2 separate regions of the Homo sapiens genome follow, and region 2 is linked to region 1. Evidence: promoter capture Hi-C in human tissues and cell types (Jung and others, 2019). All regions are on one chromosome and are shown on one strand. Each heading gives the region's core, a stretch centred on a gene start or on the middle of the fragment in contact. The rest is flanking DNA. Distances are from core to core; before and after follow the strand shown.

Region 1 (2,658 bases), core at 1-2,500:
CTAGATGGGTCCGTGGGCCGGAGGGCTTTTCCGCTAGCTACAGTGAATCTGCTTCACCACGAATGGGTTTCCCCATTCAAAACCACCTCCACCCCTGTGTCAAGGCTGCGCTCCATTTATCTGAGCGGTCAAGGTCAGCCCCTGGCTCACACACCTTCGAGTCCCCTCCCCCGCGCAGCTGGCGCAGGATCCAGGACGGCAGGACGGTGTGGCCTTAGGGAGGGCCAACGGCTGCCTAACGTCCTGTGCCCACCCCGCCCCGCCCCACTGTCCCCTGAAAGCCTGGCGCCAATGACCCGCGAGACATTTTTTGCCTGGGGTGCTCCTGTCGGAAAGGAAAGAGGAAAGGACGACTAAGAACTTATACTCGAACTCCCGAATTTCTCTTTTCAAGGTTTAAGAGGAAAGCTGGTTCGTGGGGATTGGATGGGAGGCCACCAGGAAACCAAGTTCCCGCGCCAGCTTCAGTGCTCTCCTCTTCCCGCCGCCTTTGCCCCGCCCACATCACTTTCGCTCCAGTTTTTGAAAACGCTGCGAAGCGGAATGGTCCACAGGGGAAAACGGAGGAGGGGCCAAAGCCAGGACTTTGAGACCGGCGCGCGGTCAAGCCCAGGCAGCTCTCCCTAACCCTCCAGCACTGGGCAAACGCTGCCCGATGACGCCCGCCTCGGGGGCCACGGCATCACTGGGGCGACTGCGAGCCCGGCCGCGGAGCCGCTGGGACGCGGCTTACCTCCCGGCTGTCGCTGCTGTGTGTGTTGCCCGCGCCAGTCACGTCCCTAATGGGACCCTCCGTTTCGGCGTCTGTAAGGCGAGGAGGACGATGCGTCCCCTCCCTCGCAGGATTGAGGTTAGGACTAAACGGGGTCCGCAGCGCCCGGCAGCTCCCGAGCGCTCTCCCCAGCCGCGCCTCCCTCCTTCCCGCCACCCGTCCCGCAGGGGCCCGCGGCGTCACCTCTCAGGCTGTAGCGCGCCTGCATGCCGAATACCGACAGGGTGCCGGTGCCCGTGCGGTCGTCCTTCCTGACGCCGCAGCGGAGGATGTGTTGGATCTGCCCCAGGTACTGCAGCTCCCCGTGCGGCGGACGCGGCTCGGCGTCCCGCTCCTGTGCGGCGGGGGGCAAGGGCCGGCGCGGCAGCTCCGAGCCGGCCACAGGCATGGCGCGGCGGGCGGGGGACGGAGGCAGGCGAAGTGGCGCGGCGGGACGGAGGCAGGCCAAGTGGCGCGGCGGGACGGAGGCAGGCCAAGTGGCGCGGTGGCAGGACCCCTTCCGCGCGCCTTTTCCCGCGGCCGTCCCGCGCTCCGCCTCTTCCTGCTCGGCGGGGTCGCGGCGGCCCCCGCTCTAGAGAGCGTGCGCCAGGGGGAAACGCAGGAGCCACGGGTGTGGCACAGAACGGAGCCCAGGGCCACAGCTGAGAGTCTTAGGAAACCCGGGAACCTGGATGCAGGTGCGGTGGCTGGGAAGGACTGCGCCCTTTGGGAACCGTCTGGTCGACCGCGCCTTCTCTAAGCCAGCAGCACAGTTCCCACGTTTTCCTGCGGTCTTGTCAACAAAACTGCTGTTTGAGATCTGTTTCCTACAACTAATAAGGGATTTGCATTTCCATTTCTTCGTTCTCACTGAAGCAACCGAAGCAAGTGGTATAATGCAGCTTTTCTACTTGATTAAAAACCGCCAGGGCGCTGGACGCGGTGGCTCACGCCTGTAATCCTAGTACTTTGGGGGGCCGAGGCGGGTGGATCACCTGAGGTCAGGAGTTCAAGACCAGCCTGGACAACATGGTGAAACCCCCGTCTCTACTAAAAGTACAAAAATTAGCTGGGCGTGGTGGCTACTTGGGAGGCTGAGGCAGAAGAATTGCTTGAACCTGGGAGGCAGAGGTTGCAGTGAGCCAAGATCCGACCATTGTACTCCAGCCTGGGCGACAGAGCAAGACTGTCCCAAAAAAAAAAAAAAAAAAAAAAAAAAGACCGCCAGGGCTTTTCCGAGGTTTTTTGTTTGAGCCCTGGCGGTCTTTTTTTTTTTTTTTTGAGACAGAGTCTCGCTCTCTCACCCAGGCTGGAGTGCAATGGTGCGATCTCGGCTCACTGCAACCTCCGCCTCCTGGGTTCAAGCAATTCTGCTGCCTCAGCCTCTCGCGTAGCTGGGACTACAGGCGCCGCCACCACGCCCGGCTAATTTTTTTTTTTCATGTTTAGTAGAGACGGGGTTTCGCCATGTTAGCCAGGCTGGTCTCAAACTCCTGACCTCAGGTGATCCACCCACATTGGCCTCCCAAAGTGCTGGGATTACAGGCGTGAGCCACCGCACTCGGCCCCAAGTTTTTAATAGACCACATTTCCCAGTTTTACTGAATTGTTTATAACATTAACACTGGGGAGTGGGAACTGTTGATGAAAAGAGTTAAACTCTGTAAAATATCTGAAGAAATTTATTCTGAGCCAAATATGAGTGACCAATGGCCGGTGATAGAGCCCTCAGCAGATCCTGAGAACATGTCCCCAAGGTGGTTGGGCTACAACTTGATTTTTTATACATTTGGTTGAAAGAATTGTTATCTAAAGATCTGGAATCAATAGAGGGCTGGGCGCGGTGGCTCACGCCTGTAATCCCAGCACTTGGGAGGTCGAGGCGGGCAGATCACGAGGTCAGGAGA
Region 2 (2,658 bases), core at 50-2,549, 1.8 Mb before region 1:
TGTGGGAGTTGGATTTGAATTAGATTGGGAGGGGTAAATTTGGGAGAGGACCTTAAACATTACAAATGACTTTCATAGGGGAAAATATCAAGGATGGAAAGAAAGAATAATCCTATTTTGTTTTATTTCTCCTGATGGCAGTGTTGGAGGTATTTGCGTTGGTGTTGGGATGGGTGGTGTATGTGTGGGTATGTGTGAATATGCAAGAAGTAGGGCATAAATGTGCTGGACTGAAAGTAATGTTGAGCCTGTTAAAGATCGAGGGAAGAAGGATGGTAGAGCAAGGGTCAACAACTCCAATGCACTCGGTGCAGCTGCTAAGTTAAATGATGAAGGGTAAAAATGAAGGCTGTAATGACTGGTGTGGGCTGTGATTACTGAATGTGTGCATCCCCTGAAGGCATTCAAAGTCCATTTAAAAACAAAACAAACACCATGCAGACCAAGCAAGACAGCTGCATGGGCTCAAATCCGTCTTCTGCACTGGTGGCCAGCTTAGAATTCTGGGCAAAAGTTTAAGAAGTAGGGGCTCAGGAGGCAAACTGTCTAGATTCAGTACCTCTTAAACCTGATAAACGTGGCAAGTTATTTAGCATCTGAAAGCCTCATTTTCCTCACCTCTAGAATGTAGATAATAATAGTACTTACCTTTTGGGATTATTGGGAGGACATTGAGAGAATGCATATACATAACAACACACTTAACAGAATAGCTGGCACCTAGCAAGCATTGAATAAATATTTGTTGTGTGTGTATACATACACACACATAAATAGAAATATATAGAAATATATATACAAATGGCCATTTCCTCCTTCAAATAATCATCTGGGGAAACTATACACTTTTATAATAATGTCTTTGACAACAAATACTTTATTTGTTCATCTTTGTATCTCCCCATGTTGAAGAGACTTCAGAGCCTGTGGCATAGTCTTCTGAATGTATTTGATGGCAGCAAATGTCTTCTTTCAGAAAGTGGGAGGGGATTTGGATTTTGAAAAACATTAGGAGTCCTTTGCAGTGAAGACTGACGAGTAAGATAAATAATAAAATGGAGTGATACAATTTACAAAAATGAGTTAATAAAAGGGAAGAAGAATTTAGGCATAAAAGGATGTGCAGTATGGAGATGGGAACTCATTCAGAGAGAATAGGCCATAATTATTTTGCTGCTTTTCTAGCTCCCTGATATTTTTATTTTAGCACATCTTCTCCACATTTAAATGTTGGAGAACCCTGGGGCTCAGTAATCGAGCCTCTTCTCTCTATCTATCCTCACTCTCCCCCGGTGATCTCATGCCTTCTCATGGCTTTAACTACCTTTTTTTGCTTCACTCCTAAATTTATACTTTCAGTTAGCATTTTTCCTCTGGACTCTAAACTTACATATTCGACCACCCAGTTGACATCTCTACACTGATGTCTAATGAGCTCCTCAAATTTATGTCCAGAATGGAGCTTTTGCTATTCGGTACCCCCTTCCCAAATCAGCTTTCCCCGTTATTCTTCCTGACTCAGCTAATGGCAACTCTGTCCTCCTTGTTGTTCAAGGCAAAACCTGTGGTGTCATGCTTAATACCTCTTTTTCTCTCATACCTTGCGTGTGGCTCATCAGCATATTCTGTCTACTCTACCAGGTATCACCCCAGTTCTACCATCCCGGTCCAAACCACCGTCGTCTCTCCCCTGGATTTTTACAGCAGTTCATCCATCCTGTGCCTATGCTTGTCCTCTTTCTCAGCACCTCGCCACAGTGATCCTGTTCAAATGAAAGTCTGGTCATGTTACTGCTCTAAGGCTTCCCATCCGACTCAGTTGCAGTCCTTACTGACCTATGAAGCGGCTCTGCAAACTTGTCTCCCGTCCAACCTTTCTGGCTTCATTGCCTCTCTCCTCATTGACTCACACCTGCCACACTGGCCTCCTTCCTGTTCCCTGAACCCCACCAGGAGCTGCTACCTCAGGACCTATGCTCTTGTTACTTCCTGTCTGGAATGCTTGTCCCCTCTATATTTGCATGGCTACTTTTCTCACTTCCTTCAGGTCTTTACTTACAGTCACCTTCCCTGGCTGCCCTGTTTAGGAATTTTATTTCCTTTCCCCATATTTTCCTTCTGTGATTAATTTATTTATTTTTCCTTAGCAATTGCTTCTCTCTCTCTCTCTCTGTCTCTCTCTCCCTCCCCTCTCTCAAAAGTATAAGCTCTTTGAAGGCAGAAAATTTGTGTGTTTTGTTAACTATTGTATCTCTGGTGTCTTGAATATGCCTGGCCCATAGTGAACACTCAATAAATACGTGTTGAGTAAAGGAATACATGCATTCATTGCCTTTTCTGTTATCTATTTAAAAATAATGCAGCAACTGTGGACGATACAGGCAATGATTATAGTGGAGAAGGCACAGGACCAGGAATCCAGGCACTTGGATTCTACTTCCAGCTGTGCTACTCAGTAGCTTTGTAGTTTTTGGCCCGTGACTTTACCTCCACAAGCCTTGATTTCCTCATGTACAAAATGAGGCGGTTAAATGAGATATATAGATGACTGCTAGAATCACTTTCATCTCTGGGGTGAAATGACTAATATAACAAGGAAGATTCTTATAATAACAAAGATCTGTGCTTTATTTCAGACCAATTTAGAACTCTTTGTGA

The links. Contacts are between HindIII fragments. The study calls those that stand out against the background at their distance.
Region 2: a contact is called between a fragment that was not itself captured here and the fragment with the promoter of TYMS in region 1, in 1 of the 25 tissues and cell types used here (dorsolateral prefrontal cortex).

What each region holds. Positions count from the first base shown.
Region 1 is chr18:656,245-658,902 of GRCh38, reverse strand. TYMS (thymidylate synthetase) reads right to left here and starts at 1,250. Exons shown (of 7, transcript NM_001071.4): 1 at 956-1,250. The coding sequence starts at 1,160. TYMSOS (TYMS opposite strand RNA) reads left to right here and starts at 612. Exons shown (of 2, transcript NR_171001.1): 1 at 612-1,061. RefSeq lists enhancers at 538-657, 525-1,024, 1,025-1,526 and silencers at 888-937, 1,108-1,287. The HindIII fragment of the contact is 10,369 bases long and covers 1-2,658 here.
Region 2 is chr18:2,419,822-2,422,479 of GRCh38, reverse strand. No RefSeq gene overlaps it. Among named protein-coding and RNA genes, the nearest start is that of METTL4, 150 kb to the left of the region's middle. The HindIII fragment of the contact is 6,885 bases long and covers 1-2,658 here.